6 separate regions of the Homo sapiens genome follow, and regions 2, 3, 4, 5 and 6 are each linked to region 1. The links are contacts of gene promoters, found by promoter capture Hi-C in blood cells and fetal thymus (Javierre and others, 2016). All regions are on one chromosome and are shown on one strand. Each heading gives the region's core, a stretch centred on a gene start or on the middle of the fragment in contact. The rest is flanking DNA. Distances are from core to core; before and after follow the strand shown.

What was found. Contacts are between HindIII fragments. The CHiCAGO score rates a contact against its expected background, and 5 or more counts as called.
Region 2: a fragment that was not itself captured here is called in contact with the fragment with the promoter of PTPN4 in region 1 in 1 of 17 cell types (activated CD4 T cells); the score reaches 6.6 in activated CD4 T cells.
Region 3: a contact is called between a fragment that was not itself captured here and the fragment with the promoter of PTPN4 in region 1, in 1 of 17 cell types (non-activated CD4 T cells). The highest score is 6.7, in non-activated CD4 T cells.
Region 4: the fragment with the promoter of INSIG2 here is called in contact with the fragment with the promoter of PTPN4 in region 1 in 4 of 17 cell types (activated CD4 T cells, total B cells, naive CD4 T cells and 1 more); the score reaches 7.7 in activated CD4 T cells.
Region 5: a contact is called between a fragment that was not itself captured here and the fragment with the promoter of PTPN4 in region 1, in 1 of 17 cell types (total CD8 T cells). The highest score is 6.5, in total CD8 T cells.
Region 6: a fragment that was not itself captured here is called in contact with the fragment with the promoter of PTPN4 in region 1 in 1 of 17 cell types (activated CD4 T cells); the score reaches 5.1 in activated CD4 T cells.

The regions. Positions count from the first base shown.
Region 1 is chr2:119,758,595-119,761,294 of GRCh38, forward strand. It overlaps PTPN4 (protein tyrosine phosphatase non-receptor type 4), which reads left to right and starts at 1,328. Exons shown (of 27, transcript NM_002830.4): 1 at 1,328-1,790. It overlaps LOC101927764 (a long non-coding RNA gene), which reads right to left and starts at 1,120. Exons shown (of 4, transcript XR_007087215.1): 1 at 1,038-1,120. RefSeq lists silencers at 870-979, 1,530-1,829 and enhancers at 1,019-1,313, 1,030-1,289, 1,560-2,184. The HindIII fragment of the contact is 4,728 bases long and covers 1-2,099 here.
Region 2 is chr2:121,533,695-121,536,394 of GRCh38, forward strand. All of the region lies in intron 2 of CLASP1 (cytoplasmic linker associated protein 1), which reads right to left. Among named protein-coding and RNA genes, the nearest start is that of RNU4ATAC, 4.2 kb to the left of the region's middle. The HindIII fragment of the contact is 4,052 bases long and covers 1-2,700 here.
Region 3 is chr2:117,822,448-117,825,147 of GRCh38, forward strand. DDX18 (DEAD-box helicase 18) reads left to right here. Exons shown (of 14, transcript NM_006773.4): 8 at 2,122-2,261; 9 at 2,493-2,654. Among named protein-coding and RNA genes, the nearest start is that of DDX18, 9.1 kb to the left of the region's middle. The HindIII fragment of the contact is 2,356 bases long and covers 210-2,565 here.
Region 4 is chr2:118,087,130-118,089,829 of GRCh38, forward strand. It overlaps INSIG2 (insulin induced gene 2), which reads left to right and starts at 1,342. Exons shown (of 6, transcript NM_016133.4): 1 at 1,342-1,412. It overlaps LOC107985940 (a long non-coding RNA gene), which reads right to left and starts at 1,302. Exons shown (of 3, transcript XR_001739662.3): 1 at 1,122-1,302. RefSeq lists enhancers at 1,047-1,096, 1,107-1,296. The HindIII fragment of the contact is 7,859 bases long and covers 1-2,700 here.
Region 5 is chr2:117,999,236-118,002,060 of GRCh38, forward strand. CCDC93 (CCC complex scaffolding subunit CCDC93) reads right to left here. Exons shown (of 24, transcript NM_019044.5): 4 at 1,586-1,697. Among named protein-coding and RNA genes, the nearest start is that of CCDC93, 13 kb to the right of the region's middle. The HindIII fragment of the contact is 5,303 bases long and covers 1-2,825 here.
Region 6 is chr2:118,016,971-118,019,670 of GRCh38, forward strand. No RefSeq gene overlaps it. Among named protein-coding and RNA genes, the nearest start is that of CCDC93, 4.3 kb to the left of the region's middle. The HindIII fragment of the contact is 920 bases long and covers 795-1,714 here.

The sequences.
Region 1 (2,700 bases), core at 78-2,577:
GTATGATTCTATTTATATGAAACATTCAATTTCTGGTGGAAGTCTCATATGATCTTTGGTTGGAGGATGACTGGATGTTGACAGATGACAATGAGGTGAAGAGCATTTTAGCAGAGGGAATGGCATGATCAAAGACAAAATGGAGAGTCAGAGGCAGGAATGCATATTTAGGGAGGAATGAATGAGCACTGGCTACAACAGAGATCTGGGAAGAAAAGCAAGTGAAGGAAGTAAAGCTGGAAACATGGATTGACAAGTTGCCTTTTTCAAATGGAAAAACTAACAGGTGTGAGGGAGAAGAGAGTCAATAGAAATTTCTGTCTTTTCCAGATTTGTTCACATTCCCCTGATTTGTAGTCATTTTGTCGGCTTGGGAAAGTGGTTTTTGAAAGATCGTCTTTATAAAGGTAGGCTCTGATAGGATGCTCAAGCTAAGAGCAAGGAAGGACAAAGAAGGCGCCTGGCGACAGAAAAGGGCACTAACAAAAATTGGGCAAAAAGGAAGTGTGGCGGTCCCCAAATCCCTTCTTCCTCCATTTCAGCTGAGATCATTCGCCAGTAGGCAACTGTGGTATTACCAATAAGTTTGTATCACCAATAAAATATTATAATGCACCTGGCTAAAAACCCTGGCGTGATAACACCAAATTCATGTTATTAGAAGGAATTAAATTTTAAAAAGCACACCGTTCCAGGCACACAGAAGGAGCCCCCGAACGTTTGTTTTATAAACGCAGGTTGGTTGCTGAGGCTTTGTTTTGGAGCCTACGTTTAGGAGAGGAAATGATTCAAAACTGCCCCCCAAAACCTATATCCTCCAGGAGCACTGAGGTTGGGGCGACCTGCTGCCAACTGGTCTGGTTTTCCCTTTTAACACACGCTTCTTGCCCACTATCCGGTCCCTGCGGTCAGTGGGTGCAGCAGGGGTCGCAGTCCAAACAACCAATCGCGACGCGGCTGCGGGGCGGGGGCCACAGCGCTCCGCCTCCCCCCTCCAATCCGCCCTCCCAATCCTCCTAGGCCGCTCTCTCTCGCACCTGCGTGTCCCTCTGCGCTCCGACTGGTGCGACTTCTCCCTGCGCTAGCGAGGCAGGGTTTTGGCCTCGCCTCTCGCGAGATCGCCTCCTGTTGCTGCCGCCGCCGCTCCTGGCCACTGACTGGCGGCGCCTGCGCAGCCGCCATGTTCGGTTGCTATGCTGCGGCCTAGGAGAGGGGGTGTGCTTGAGGGAGGAGGAAGAGATAGAGGAGGAGGAGGGGGAGGAAGAGGAGGTGGAGAAGGAGGGGGGTGACTGAGCTCCTCTTGCACTCTCACACACAAACGCTGCCCAGGATTACCCGCCAGCTCACGCCGCGCAGTGCGCTTTTCCGCTCCTCGCGCCCCACCACCAACATTGTTCTCTCAGGACTCCTGGGTCCCAGGGGCCGGAATTGGGCCTGAGCGGGAGAGGAAAGAGACTTGGCTTTGGCCGCGGGGTCGGAGGATTGGGGCCAGGCCCCCTCCCCCACGCACTTTTGGGGGTGTGGATTATCTCATCCCTGCAGGGAGGTAGGAGAGGTCGCCGGCTGCCCGCCTCCCTGCCACCTCCCCAGCGGCGCCGGCCCGCGGCTGCCCAGCAGCATGAGGTGGTGCTGGCGGCTCCGGGTCGTGGCGCGACCGCTGCGGCGGCGGCTGCTCGGGGGGCGCTGAGGTAGCCCCCCGGAGCGGCACGGAGGACGCGCTTCTCCTCTGCGCGCCGGGGCCTCGAGGCTTTTTTTCTCCAGCCGAGAGGACGCGGCTGTGATATACGAAGGTAAGAGGTTCTCCGGTCCCCGCCGGCCTCTCGGCCCTGCACGTTGAACGGGAGGCTCTTACCTGCATGTGTGGCTCCTGGGAGGTGAGCCAGGTGGGGCAAGCCGGAGGTACGAGGATGATTTGAAAGGAAGGAAAAAAGGACAAAAACAAACAAACAAACAAACAAAAAAACGCTTTCTTTCCTTTCTTCCTGGGACCTCTGCTTTTGCGGGGGTTATAGTTGGAATCTCTGTTATGGGTCAGCGAAGGGCCAAGGGATGGAATAGGTGCGGAGATGGAATGTTCCCAGTACCTAAACTCTAGGTAAAGCTTTGGAATCTTGAGTTTTCCATTGCTGGTAGAATTCCTTTTTTTTTTTTTTTTTTTTTTGGCTCATATGAGCGCTTCTTGCACGCTGCATGAGCCAACTATTCCTACCATTGAAGTTTTAAGCCTGTTATGATTCTACCAGTATATACCTGTATTTGGGAATCTGTAGTTGAGCCAAAAAAAAAAAAAAAAAAAAAGTTGAGATGTGGGTAAACAGTGATGCATTTCGCAGGGTTTCCATAAAATGGAACAGCTTACAGTTGCACAGGTGATGTGTGGATGTTTCTGCAAAACTTAGGGTGGAAGATTTTATGTCTGGGCTTGCATCATGTAGTGACATCAGTATGTACAAGGACGATTTGTAGGATTTTTCAAAACGCCTGTTCTAGGATAACTTGTTATGCATCTGCAATATGCCAGCTGCTTTTCGAATAAGAGGTTTCAGTAATACTAAGTTTCTGTGTCCAGATCTTGGGCCCAGTTGAAACAGTACAGCTGATTGGTCACATTTAAAACATATTTATGGAGAAAGATAAAAGGCCAATGTGTCCGACTTGCAAAAGACAATTAGAGTAGAAAGAAGACTGGAACAGTAAAAG
Region 2 (2,700 bases), core at 27-2,526, 1.8 Mb after region 1:
ATTAACTCTGCGTGACCCTTGACTCTGACATTTTACTTAATTATCTACGTTTGTGCTTGTTTCCCCAGCTACACTCCTTGAATGTAAGGAATACTATCATCTTGCATTTCCTCAGAATTCCCATAATAAGTAGCACAATGCTGGGTACACGGTAGGTGATCAATAAACCCTACTGTATTGATGTGAATGAGACTGGAATAGATGAGTTCTCAAGGTCCAACACATCTTCTTTATCCTACAAACCTTTAAAAGACTCTTTTGTAAAAGAGAGAAGAGGGCTGACCAGGTCACTGGGACCAACACTCCTGCCGAGCACAACTAAAAAATGCTGGACATAAAAGGACACCTGCAGCATCAGAGAACTAAGAAGGCACAGAAGAACTTCCAGGTCAAGAAACAGAGACAACCAAAATTTACAGATATAAGCCTGCAACAACTGGTTCACTTTGCCCTGGGGCCATTTATACACTGGGAAAGGGCACAGAGAATCACTTTTAATAACCTCTTGGGTCATCTAGGAGGGCAAAGGTTAGATTCCAAAGCCCTCCAAAGTTGGTGACCTAGTTAACCCCCTACCACATGTGCTGGAAACCCAAATGGCTAGACTTTAGGAGGAGAGTGAGTTGGAAATAAAACAGCCTTCACAGGGACTGCAGCCCAGTTTCCAAGCATCTGGGTGGCCCAGAAAAATCCTAATCCCTGACATCAGATTAAAGTGAGGTTAGACTGTTTGTGCCCAAAAGCCCTGAGCAGATAAAAACACAAGTCATTTCTGGATAAAGAAAACATCATCCTAATAATCTAGTCCTCGGATTATTCCTGTAAAAATTTTCTTTTGTTGTTGTTGTTGTTTGTTTTTTTGAGACAGAGTCTCGCTCTGTTGCCCAGGCTGGAGTGCAATGGCACGATCTCTGCTCACTGCAACCTCCGCCTCCCGGGTTCAAGAGATTCTCGTGCTTCAGCCTCCCAAGTAGCTGGGACGTGTTATCAGCCCAGCTAATTTTTGTATTTTTAGTAGAGACGGGGTTTTATCATGTTGGACAGACTGTTCTTGAACTCCTGACCTCAAGCAATCTGCCTGCCTCAGCTCCCAAAGTGCTGGGATTACTGACGTTGAGCCATTGTGCCTGGCCTATTCCTGTAACAATTTTTCAAAGAGAACATCTGAAACACAACCAAAGATAACCAGTCACACAGGACAAAGTGAAAACTAGCAGAAACAAAGACCAACCTGGACTCTGGGTCCCTGGATAGGAGAATAATTGCAAACGGACTTTAAAATAACAAGTCAGGCCGAGTGTGGTGTCTCACGCCTGTAATCCCAGCACTTTGGGAGGCCAAGGCAGGCAGAGGCAGGCGGATTGCCTTAGCTTAGGAGTTCAAGACTAGCCTGGGCAACGTGGCGAAATGCCACCTCTACGAAAAAATACAAAACTTAGCTGGGCGTGGTGGCATGCACCTGTGGTCCCAGCTGCTCTGCTCGGGAGGCTGAGGTGGGAGGATCACTTGAGCCTGGGAGGCGGAAGTTGCAGCGAGTGGAGATCGTGCCACTGCACTCCAGCCTGGGTGACAGAGAGACACCTTGTCTCAATAAATAAATTAATTAAATTAAATAACCAGTCTTATTATGTCTAAGAAGAAAAAACACATGATTAAAGTTTTGGGTAGAGAAATGACAACTTTTAAAGTTACATAGGTTAAACAAATAATACAAGAGAAAATTAAATACTCAATGCATGGGCTCTTTTTCCTAAGTGCACTGTAAATACATGAAGAGAACTAAACAGGAAACTAAGTCTGCAGAAAAAATCCAGAATAAAGTAAAGAGAAGCAAAAAGATGGAATATTCAAAAGAATAGGCAAGAGAGAATAGAGAGAAAACATCAAGTTTAAATGGAATTTAAAAAGAAGAAATGAGAGACAATAGGTAAAAAGTAACGGCTGACATTCATTAGAATTTTTTTTTTTTTTGGAGATAGGATCATGCTCTGTCACCCAGGCTGGAGTGTAGTTGCGTGATTTCGGCTCACTGCAACCTCCATCTCCCAGCTTCAAGTGATCCTCCCGCCTCAGCAACCTGCCCCCTCCCCAGTAGCTGGGACTACAGGCGCGTGCCAACACACCACCCAGCTAATTTTTTGAGCTTTTGTAGAGGAGAGGTTTTGCCATGTTGCCCAGGCTGGTCTTGAACTTCTGGACTCAAGCGATCCGACTGTGTTGGCCTCCCAGAGTGCTGGGATTACAGGCATGAGCCACTGCACCCAGCCCTATTTTATTAAAAAATAAAAAATAAATACTGTTGGTAAAGATGTAGAGAAACTGGAACTCTTGTATACTGCTGGTGAAGTGTAAAATGGTAGAGTTGTTGTGGAAAATGGTTATAGCAGTTCCTCAAAAAAGATTAGGGCTGGGCACAGTGGCTCACGCCTGTAATCCCAGCACTTTGGGAGGCCGAGGTGGGCAGATCACGAAGTCAGGAGATCGAGACCATCCTGGCTAACACAGTGAAACCCCGTCTCTAGTAAAAATACAAAAAATTAGCCGGGCGTTGTGACGGGCACCTGTAGTCCCAGCTACTCGGGAGGCTGAGGCAGGAGAATCGCATGAACCTGGGAGGCGGAGCTTGCAGTGAGCCGAGATTGTGCCACTGCACTCCAGCCTGGGCGACAGAGCAAGACTGTCTGAAAAAAAAAAAAAAAA
Region 3 (2,700 bases), core at 138-2,637, 1.9 Mb before region 1:
TGCTGTTTTAGAAGTTATAAGGCACGTTAAGCAGTCTTCACATAGGTCCTGTCCTCCACCTCTTGCCCATTCTTACCTCATCTAACATCCCCCAAGAAGCCGCAGATTTTTTGCCTTACTTGTACATACCTTGGTTATAGTACTTGCAACATTATGAACTGGTTATAACTAAGACCATGGTTTCCTTCATTATATAATTTATTTTTAAAAGCTTTGTCAAAGTATAATTATATCTACCCATTTATAATGTACAATTTGATGTTCTTTGATTTGTTTACCACTGTGACATCATCGCTGCAATCAAGAAAATGAACATGTCCATCACAGTCAAAGGTTTCCTCCTGCCCCTTTTCAATTTCTCCCTCCCACCCCTCCTTACACGTATACCTTGTCCCCAGGTGAGTATTGATCTGTTTTCTGCTGCTAGATTAGGTTGCATTTTCTGGAAATAAAGTTGCTGTGAACAGTCATCTACAACTCTTTGTAGAGGCATATATCTCCTTTTCTCTTAAGTAAACCTAGGAGTGTCCTAGTTGGTATATGTTTAGTGTATGTTTAACTTTTTAAAAAACTGCCAGATGTTTTCCAAAGCGGCTGTACCATTTAACATTCCTATGAGCAGTGTATGAAAGTTCCAGTTCCTCCTATTAAGTCTTGACCATCAGGTAATGTTAGCCCCAAGTTTGTTCTCTTTTAAAGTTGTGGTATTCTTGTCCTTTGCTTTTCTATATAAATTTTAGAATTGGTTTGTCAGTTTCTCCCCCTTCCCTCCAAAAAAGTCTCAGATCTTGACTGAGATTTTATTGAATAGAGATTATTGGAGGAAGACAGTATTGAGTCATGTAACCCATAATAAGGTATATCTCCATGTATTCGATATTTTCTCTATCATATTTAGGGGGGTTCGGGATACAGGTTTATTCACATCTTTTGTCAGATTTATCTCTGAGTGTTTCATTAAAATTTCAAGTTCCAATTGCTCGTTGCTTTAATATATACATATATACACACACACATATACACACATATATATGCACACACAGTTGAATTTTATATTGATCTTGTATCTAGCAAGACAGTTAATCCTGTACCGAATGATTATTCAGTATGACTTTCCAGATGACTGTAGCCTTTTGGATTTTCTATATAGGCAATCATGTGCAGATAAAGACAGTTTCACCTCTTTATTTAATTTTTTTTTCCTGCCTGATTGCCCTGGCCAGAACCTCCAGTATGGTGCTGAATAGAAGTGGTGAGAGCAGACATCCTTATCTTGGTTCTGATCTTAGGGGAAAGCATTCAGTCTTTTACCATTAACTACATATGAAGTTAGCTGCAGGTTTTATATAGATGCCTTTTATCAGATTGAGGAAGATCCCTTCTGTTCCTAGTTTGCTGAGGATTTTTAATCAGAAATAGATGGTCAAATGTTTTTTTTCTGTCTGCTGAAATAATCATGTTTTTTCTTTAGTTAACATAGTGAATTGTATTGGTTGATTTTTCAAATGTTGAACCAACCTGCATTTCTAGAATAAACCTGATCCATTTCTAGAATAAACATGAGCCATTATCCTTTTTATATATTGCTGAATTCACTTTACTAAAATTCTATTTCAAATTTTGTATATGTGCTCACGAATTGTATTGGTCCATAGTTTTCTTGTCATGTCATGTCAGGTTTTTGTATAGTGTAATGACTGACTTCGAAGAATGAGTTGACATGTAAGCCCTCTTTTTAATTTATTGGAGAGTTTGTGAATAATTGATGTTTTTTTCTTAAATGTTCAGTAGAATTCACCAATGGAATCCATTTGGGCCTGGAATTTTCTTTACATGAAGGTTATAACTAAAATTTCTTTAGTAGATATAAGGCTATTTAAAGTTTTCCTATTTTCTTCAGTTGTTTGTCTTCAAAGGAGTTTGTCCATTTCATCTAAGTCCTCAAATTTATAGACCTAGTGTTTCATGATATACCCTTTTTACCTTTTGTAATATTTGTAGATTCTGTAGAAACATCATATCTCCCATTTCTGATATCTCTACCTAGAATATTTGTAGTTGTGAGGCAATTGTAAAGATTCCCTAAAAGATTGGGGTTATTTTTATATGTATCTGTTTCAGCACGTAGACAGACTATGCTCTTTTCTGCCACCCAAACTCGAAAAGTTGAAGACCTGGCAAGGATTTCTCTGAAAAAGGAGCCATTGTATGTTGGCGTTGATGATGATAAAGCGAATGCAACAGTGGATGGTCTTGAACAGGTACTTTTTATCAATAACTGAAAACTGTAGGGATCTTACTTGGTGTTTTTATGTAATTGTTGGAAGGATCATTCAGAAAGCAAATGGGTTAATGAACTTTTAAAATGCTGTAGGTGAGGCATGACAGTTTACACACTGTGTTTATCAGTGCTCTTGATGAAATTACACAAGTTAGGAAATGGAAAATGTCCACTTGGTTCATTTGTATCTGTCTGCTTAAACGCTTTCTAGGGATATGTTGTTTGTCCTTCTGAAAAGAGATTCCTTCTGCTCTTTACATTCCTTAAGAAGAACCGAAAGAAGAAGCTTATGGTCTTCTTTTCATCTTGTATGTCTGTGAAATACCACTATGAGTTGCTGAACTACATTGATTTGCCCGTCTTGGCCATTCATGTAAGTGATGATGATGAGCTCATTGAAAACAGGGTATGCTTATTAA
Region 4 (2,700 bases), core at 92-2,591, 1.7 Mb before region 1:
TCAGTTCAAAGTAAATGAAAGGAGTTTACCATCTGACAGTCCTTTGGAAAACTATTATGCAATTACTCTCGGCCCAGATTTCATCTAGAACATTCAAGTCCATTGTAATCTTACCACATCCATACACGTTTTGGGTTAAGCCACCTCCAAATGGAATAGCTCAATAACTAATACACTCAAGAGAGATTATTTTTTCTCTCTTTTTAAAAAGAGTTGCTTAAAAAAAACAAATTCAGGGGGCAGCTCACGCCTGTAATCCCAGCACTTTGGGAGGATGAGGCGGGCGAATCACGAGGTCAGGAGTTTGAGACCAGCCTGGCCAATATGATGAAACTCCATCTCTACTAAAAATACAAAAAGTAGGCAGACATGGTGGCATGTACCTGTAGTCCCAGCTACTGGGGAGGCTGAGGCAGAAGAATCACTTGAACCCGGGAGGCAGAGGTTGCAGTGAGCCGAGATCATGCCAGTGCACTCCAGCCTGGGTGACAGAGAGAGACTCCGTCTCAAATAAATAAATAAATAAAAATAAATAAAAATTCAGAATAGGGAAGCAACTCCTCCTTATGACGAGTACCTTTCGGCACTTATATGGGCTTGCTTTTGCATTGATGGCACCACTTTCATTCAAAAAAAAAAGTTCGCTTGCACAATCTGCAAAGATCTGTTTGGCTTGGTTTCATGTTCTAAAAGTATGGTTTTAGATTAAATGAAAAATAATACTTCTGAAAAATAAGCGGTTATAAGGTTTTTAAGTTTTCTTTATGTTGGTGTAAACTTATAAAGCCCTTCCTATGAAAACTGTCCCCCAAATCACATTACTTGGTCGTCCTCGAGGAACGATTTTGAATGAAAAGCACATAAAGTGCTGTAGCATGGAGACGAGAGACAAATAACTATGCCCTTCTCCCAAAATAAGTTATGACTTACTAGGGGAGGAAAAGGAGCAAAGAGTATAAAGCCCGGTCCTCTGCGGGAAGTACCCGGAGGCCTGCCCCGGAACGCGCTCCTTTCGGCTACGAGATGAGGGGCACGCAGACGGACGCGCCCCTCGGTGAGTGTGCGTGTATCAGTGCATGATTCCTTTACTCCGCCCACAGGGTCTGGGCATCCGTCATTACCTACGGCTGCCTGGTCAGCAAACAACAGCAGATCCGACAACCGCCAGTCACCTCGACGGTCCACGCCCACCGCTAGCCTCCAGTTTCCCGCAGACCGGAAGCCCTTTTGCCCCGGCTCGCAGGTCCACGTCTTATTGACAGCAGGAACCGGAAGCTCTTCTGCCCCGATCGCCTGCGCGCGGCCTCGTTGGCCGCACAGGCGCAGTGGAGCTCGGGCGGAGTTGTGGGAGTGGAGGAGGAAGAGGCGGTAGGGGGTACGGGGGCTGGTCCCAGAAGATGGCGGAGGCGGGGGTGAGTTGGGGGTCTCCCGGCGAAGCGCGGGTGACGTGGTGCTGAGGAAAGCGGCCTGAGGAGGAGGGTGGCCCTTGGGAAGAAGAACTACTTGTGTTTTTGCAGCCTGGGAACCCTGGTGGCAGGTGCGGGGAGCCAGGACCACTGATGGGCCTGCAGGGCAAGGGGCTCCGCTTACCTGAGAGGGGTCCGCAAGGTCCAGAAGGGGACTGCGGGATCGGGGAGGGGGTATAGGAGGGGTCGAGGCTCCCCGGACAGTGGATGAGTGTCTGAGCGGGAAGAAGGCTGGAGGACGGCGAGAAGGGCGACCCAATGGTCTGATGAGGTGGAGGTCAGCGAGCTGTCAAGCATAGAGCTGCCAGGACTTGGGGGCTTGTAGCCTGGGAGAGAAGACTCAGACTTGGGCGGGGATTGGATCCAAAGAAGACAGGTTGTCGTAGTAAGTTTATAATCCACTAAGGAGATAGGGCATTGGGTTGAGGAGTAATACTCTGGCATTTTTGACTGGAATTGGTTACCTATGGAATAGGTGTTTCGGTAAAGCCAAATAATTCTTGCCAGGGCCTAGAAGTGGATTTGATGATAATTACTAGATTTTAGGGTTGCTTAGTGGGGATTGGCAATATGGAGAAGGAAAGCAGTGTGGATTATGGGAGTGGGCGCGGGCAATGGCGCTAACACTTAAGTGATAATGACCCATGTCCAGTTAACGTTGGAAAAAGTTGTTAAAGTATGATATTAGCTAGATGCTCTAGGAAAATATACCATGAAGAACTTGCTGTTTTGTAGGATTGATGAAGAAATGCTTTAAAAAGGAATGGTTAGGCTTGGCAGCTGGGCCACTGAAACTGTTTGGTATCAGTATTGCGGTGGAGCTGAGGACTGCAGGGGAATGCGTGCTCCCGTCCTGGTGCAGAAAAAATAAAAGCAGCCAGACAGTAGCTAGATGGTGTTTTGTAACTTTTGGGTTTGGCCCTGATAGTGAACCACTGAATGAAGATGGATGAAGGGAATGCTACTAATGGGGGCCCCAAAGAAAACAAAAATCAGACGTGTGCTCTTCCTGTTTTCTGTCTTTCATTCTTTCCCTGTACTTTGTGCTCAGTACTGTGTTTTGTCATTGTGTTATGTCGTAGTTCTCAGTTCACATCTGCTGTACAGTGACCAAGCTGTGAATCATGTCCACTCGGGAAAGAGGTTGATTCTGTTTAACTGACAACTGTTGCTTTTGCAGATGGTCACACGGAAAAGGAAAGAATAAAATGCAGTTCAGTAGTTTAAAGAGTTT
Region 5 (2,825 bases), core at 149-2,648, 1.8 Mb before region 1:
ACACAGAACTAGAGAACTTCTAGCTTCAAGGGCTGTGTAGCTTCCTTCTCAGCAGCTGCATGAATGGTGGAGTGGAAAAAGCACAGGCTTGGAGACAGAGTTTAGACTGGAACCTTTGTTTGTCCACTCTCCGCCCTTAAGCAAATCAATTACCTTCTCTCAGTCTCATTTTTCCCAAATGTAAGGAAATTACATTTCTCACTTTCCTCAAATGTAAGGGATTATAATAAACGCTTCAAAGAACTCTAATAGAGTCAGATGGGAAGTAGTGTTCACACAGCGGGCAACACACCTGAGTCCCTTTGCTCCTCCTCTTTCTAAGATGCCTAGAGGGGAAGAGAAGAACTGCACAGAATGCAGTTGTCCCAAGGAATCTGTGGTGGATGGGTTCCAGGACCCGCTAGATATTAATCCACAGATGCTCAAGTCCCTGATATAAAATGGCACAGTATTTGCATACAACCTAAACACATCCTCCCCTATATTTTAAATCATCTCTAAGGTTATAATACCTAATACAACGTAAATGCTATGTAAATAGTTATGTTATACTGTATTTTTAAATTTTTATTACTTTCTTTTTCCAGCTTGCTAAATTTATATTACTTTTTATTGTTGTATTGTTATTTTTTATTGTGTTTCCCCCCACCCACCCCCAAACATTTTTGATGCATTGTTTGTTGAATTTATGGATGTGGAGCTGCGAATATGGAGGGCCGGCTGTTTGGGAGCTGTACAGCACGAGCCACTTAATCATAGGGGTTTGGGAAACAGCTGGAGGCAAAGAGAAGTCTCTCCCTTAGGCATTTAGCCATACGGACTGAATATCTACAAATTGTAAGATGTTCTGGTAGGTACTGGAAACAAAGCAATAAGCAAGACAGCCATGCAGACTTGCTCTCATGCAGCTTAAGAGTCTAATGAGAGAAGCAGATAAACAATCACACACACATGGATACACATGATTATGAACTGCTGTAAGATTCTGGTGAAGGAAAGGAATGTGGCCGTAGGAGTGCATACCATAAAGGAACATGCTGTGGATTAGCGGATGAGGGAAGGCTTTCTTGAAGAGGTTTGGTGGAACTGAGATCTGAAGGGTTGAAGTAAGCCATATGAATTAAACAGGTAAGGAGAGAATGGAAGAGCATTCCAGCCCAAGGAACTAGCAACGCAAAAGCACTGTGACAGGTGGAAGAATAAACCTGGGGAAATCTGAATGAATGCCAGAGAGTGCTAGAACAAAAAGAACAAAGAAAAGCAAGGAATGAAATCAAGCTGGATAGGTCAAAAGGGAACAGAGCATACCAGGCTACAGAGTTCTGTTTTTACCAAAAAGGCAATGAAAAGTCAGATGAGAACATTCAAAGATCTTATCAGGTGACAGCATGAAACTAGAGTATATGCAGGACTGGCAATCTTCTGAAGATGACGACAACGAACACCACCATGTTCTGCTGTACCAAATCTAAGCCACACCCATTACATTCAGGATCCAGGACAGACGGACCCATTACAGGACAAGCCAGGCCCATCACAGGAATTCTGATGTTAAGAGGACAAGAAACCACACAGAGGCTCTCACCTGAACAACAGGAAATATGTGAATAAAATCCATCCCCTGGATCTGGTGGGGCTCCAGCTGGTGTGGGCATTTCATCCTTGGCAGGACCGAGACAATTTTTTCTGACAGAGCTCTGTTCAGAAAAAGTAACAAGCAAAGAGTGAGGCATACTAAGTAGCCTTTATGGCATCTCTAAAGTCTGGGCAGCATCACAGACGGATCTGGGACTTCTCCATGCCAGGCTAGTCCAGACCATGACAAGTTTCTCCTAGATGACTGCAAAATGAGAAAAATAAGCACAATTTGGTGGTGTGTAGGTGTGTGGTCACAAAACTGCCTTCATCCTTTATTCTATAATGTTTTTCTTCCTACTTTTTTGGATGTAAAATATTTTGTGAAATGATGGTAACATTAGAGGTAGTCGTTACTATTTTTTAACTTCCTTATGTAGTAAGATAAAAAGTTATTAGTGCCCCGTATTCTTTTTACATTTCGTTTTACTGATCTACTCTTTCTAACAGTTTGAAAAAAGTATTCTAAATATCAGGCAACAAATAATTACCAGACCTTACACCAGGTACCCAGAATATTAACATGAAACATGGAGCCCCATTTCCAAAAGAGATTTGGAGTTCTCTACTCTCTGGTACAAGGATATTTTTAAAATAAATAGTAGCCTTTAATTTTTTGATACTCTAAAATAAATTCTAGAGTTGAAGGAACTGTATATCCTCACTCTCATTTCCATACAGAAGAGATATTTTCTGCTTCTTATAAGGGACACCGACCTTTCTCTAACACCTCGCCTCAGTCTTCCTCCTATAGAAGACCACAAGGTGGGACTGAGAAGGGAGGAACCAGGCTTCCTGAGGCCTCAGAGTTTTCTTCTCTGTAGGTCAGGAGGAAAGCATCCTCTCCTGCTAGGGAGGTTTCTCAGCTCAGCCTGAGCTGGGGTAGGACAGTTTATGGCAGCACTGGTGGAGGGATTTGTATGCAAGTCTGTTTTATTGCAGCCTGAAACCTCCTTCTCGAATCAGTTGGCATTTCATCTCTAGCTATGTGATTCCTGTTTCTTATACTATCTTAATTGGATCAGACTCAAGGGGAGAGAAAAGATACTATTCAGTGGTGTGCCTGACCCCAAAGCCATGGTATGTAGCCTGGGAACATTGAGAAGCAGTCACCAGGCATGGCCTTGTGGACATCTGGAGAAATAGGAGCTTCTGGCTCAGCCTACATGAATAGGTTACATTGCCACACA
Region 6 (2,700 bases), core at 5-2,504, 1.7 Mb before region 1:
ATAGTGATATAGTTTGGATATTTGTCCCACCCAGATCTCATGTCAAAATGTAATAGCCAGTGTTGGAGGTGGGGCCTGGTGGGAGGTGATTGGCTCGTTGGGGTGGATTTTTTGTGAATGGTTTAGCAACATCCTCTTGGTGCTGTCTTCCTGACACTGAGTCACTCATCACGAGATCTGGCTGTTTAAAAGTGTGGCACTTATCCTCTCTAGCTCTTGCTTTCACCATGTGACATGCCTGCTCTCCTTTCACCTTCCACCATGATTGTAATCTTCCTAAAGCCTCCCCAGAAGCCAAGCAGATGCCGGCGCCATGCTTTCTGTAAAGCCTGTAGAACTGTGAGTTAATTAAACCTCTTCTTTATAAATTACCCAGTCTCAGGTATTTCTTTATAGCAATGGGAGAATGGCCTAATACACATAGTAAAGAGCTTCCTGTTAGGCTTAGCTTTGTTCTGGAGGAAGTTTTCTTTCTTTTTTTTCTTTTTTTTTTTTTTTGAGACGGAGTCTCGCTCTGTCACCCAGGCTGGAGTGCAGTGGTGCGATCTCGGCTCACTGCAAGCTCCGCCTCCCGGGTTCACGCCATTCTCCTGCCTCAGCCTCCCGAGTAGCTGGGACTACAGGCGCCCGCCACCACGCCCGGCTAATTTTTTGTATTTCTACTAGAGGCGGGGTTTCACTGTGTTAGCCAGGATGGTCTCGATCTCCTGACCTCGTGATCCGCCCACCTCGGCCTTCCAAAGTGCTAGGATTCCAGGCGTGAGCCACCGCTCCCAGCCGGAAGTTTTCTATAAAGCTTTAATTATTCTGTCTTCAGGCTTCTCTCATTCCTTCTACATGTAGTGCAACAATGGGTGTTCAGTAAAGTAGAGTGACACAGCGAGGTCACACAGCACATTAGAGGGAGTGCTAGAACCAGAGCCCCAAATTTCTCATTCCCCATGTTCTTTTGCTCACCCATCCAACCATCCATCCATCCATCCATCCATCCAACAAATATTGCTGAGTTTCTTCTATGTCAGTAGCTCTCAAACTTGGCTGCACATTGGAATCACCTGGATTCCACCCTTAGCAATCCTGATTTAATTGGGCTAGGGAGAGGCATGAATATTGAATTTTTTGCCTTGGAACATATTGTTTTATATACAACACAGTAGTGAATAGTGACTTCATTATGGATTTGTTTCTTTATAGATCACAGTGGCATATAAAATTCAAAATCCATAAACAAAGAGCTCTTAGGTTAAATGAGTTCTTCCTAAAAATTCTTAATGGCATGCTGGTCTATTCTCAAGCGGTACAATTTTATAATGCACCATCCTATATTTAGCATGTCACATTTCTACAGTAACATAATGGAGGCACAGGCAGTGCAAGCAGATTTAAACCCCTTCTACTTCTGGACTGAAGGTTAGAAAAACACAGCGTGTACACACACACACTTGGATGAGTTCTTCCAATACGTTTTCCCCCAAAAATGATAGTTTTATCAAAGAATTTCAATAACTTTCATAGTTTGTACAACCACACTCTATTAGCTACATTAAAAAGGATTCAACAAGGGGCCAACTACACAGTAGTAAATAAACATGTTTGAGAATATCTGCTACATTCTCTATCTCCTGGAGAAAATAATATTTACATTTTTTTGTAAAGTGATTTAATAACTAAACAATTCTTTCTTTTGGTCGGGGGTAGGTAATGGGATTTTCAAAGCTTCACAGGTGATTCCAATAAGCAGTCAATTTGAGAAGAGTTTCTCTGTGCCAGAAACTGTTCCTGATGCTGCAGATACTGCAGTCAACACACCAAACAAGATAATTACTGACAGAAATTAAACATGTAATTAATAAGATAATATCAGGTAGAAATAGGTGCTATTAAAGGGGGGAAAAACAGTGTAGTTTGGGTGTGGTGGCTCACACCTGTAATCCCAGCACTTTGGGAGGCTGAGGCAGGCAGATTGCTTGAGCCCAGGAGTTCAAGACCAGCCTGGGAAACATGGCAAAAACCTGTCTCTACAATTAACAACAACAACAACAAAAAAAACAAAAACCAAAAAACAAGCAATGACAACTACAACAACAACAATTAAAAAAAACCAGTGTAATGCAATAAAGAATAGCTAGAGTCAGAGTCACTTTTAGATGAAGGGGCCAGGATTAGGCTTTGCAGTGCCATTTGAGAGAGACCTAAATCCCAAAAGGACACCATAGAAGGGCCTCAGGGGAAAGCATTGCTGGCAGAAGGAGCATCTGAGGTGTTCTGGACAGTTTCCCATTACCCTTCCAGTCCTGCTCTCAGTCCTCTCCTTGTTTGTTTCAGCACAAGGCTGACCAGTAAGGACTTCAGCAGCAGGGCCTGGGGTATGAGGATCTGGGATGTGGGTCTTGGGATGAAGGGGTGTCTGGGATGTGAGTCCTGGGGTTTGGGGGAACTGAGTTATAGGGACTAGGAAGTAAGATTTCAATAGTAATTTGACAAAATATATTAAGAACTTAAAAATTTTCTTTGATATGATACTTCCACTTTCAGGGCTTATATCAGATCTTCATCACAATGTTACTGATGAGAAAAAAAACCTATAAACCATCTAAATAGCCCATAATAAGGGACTGGTTAGGTACATTATAGTCTGTCCATTTGATATAGTGAAAATGTGTGCTTCAGCAGGCCATGAACAAAAACAGTGAGAGATGA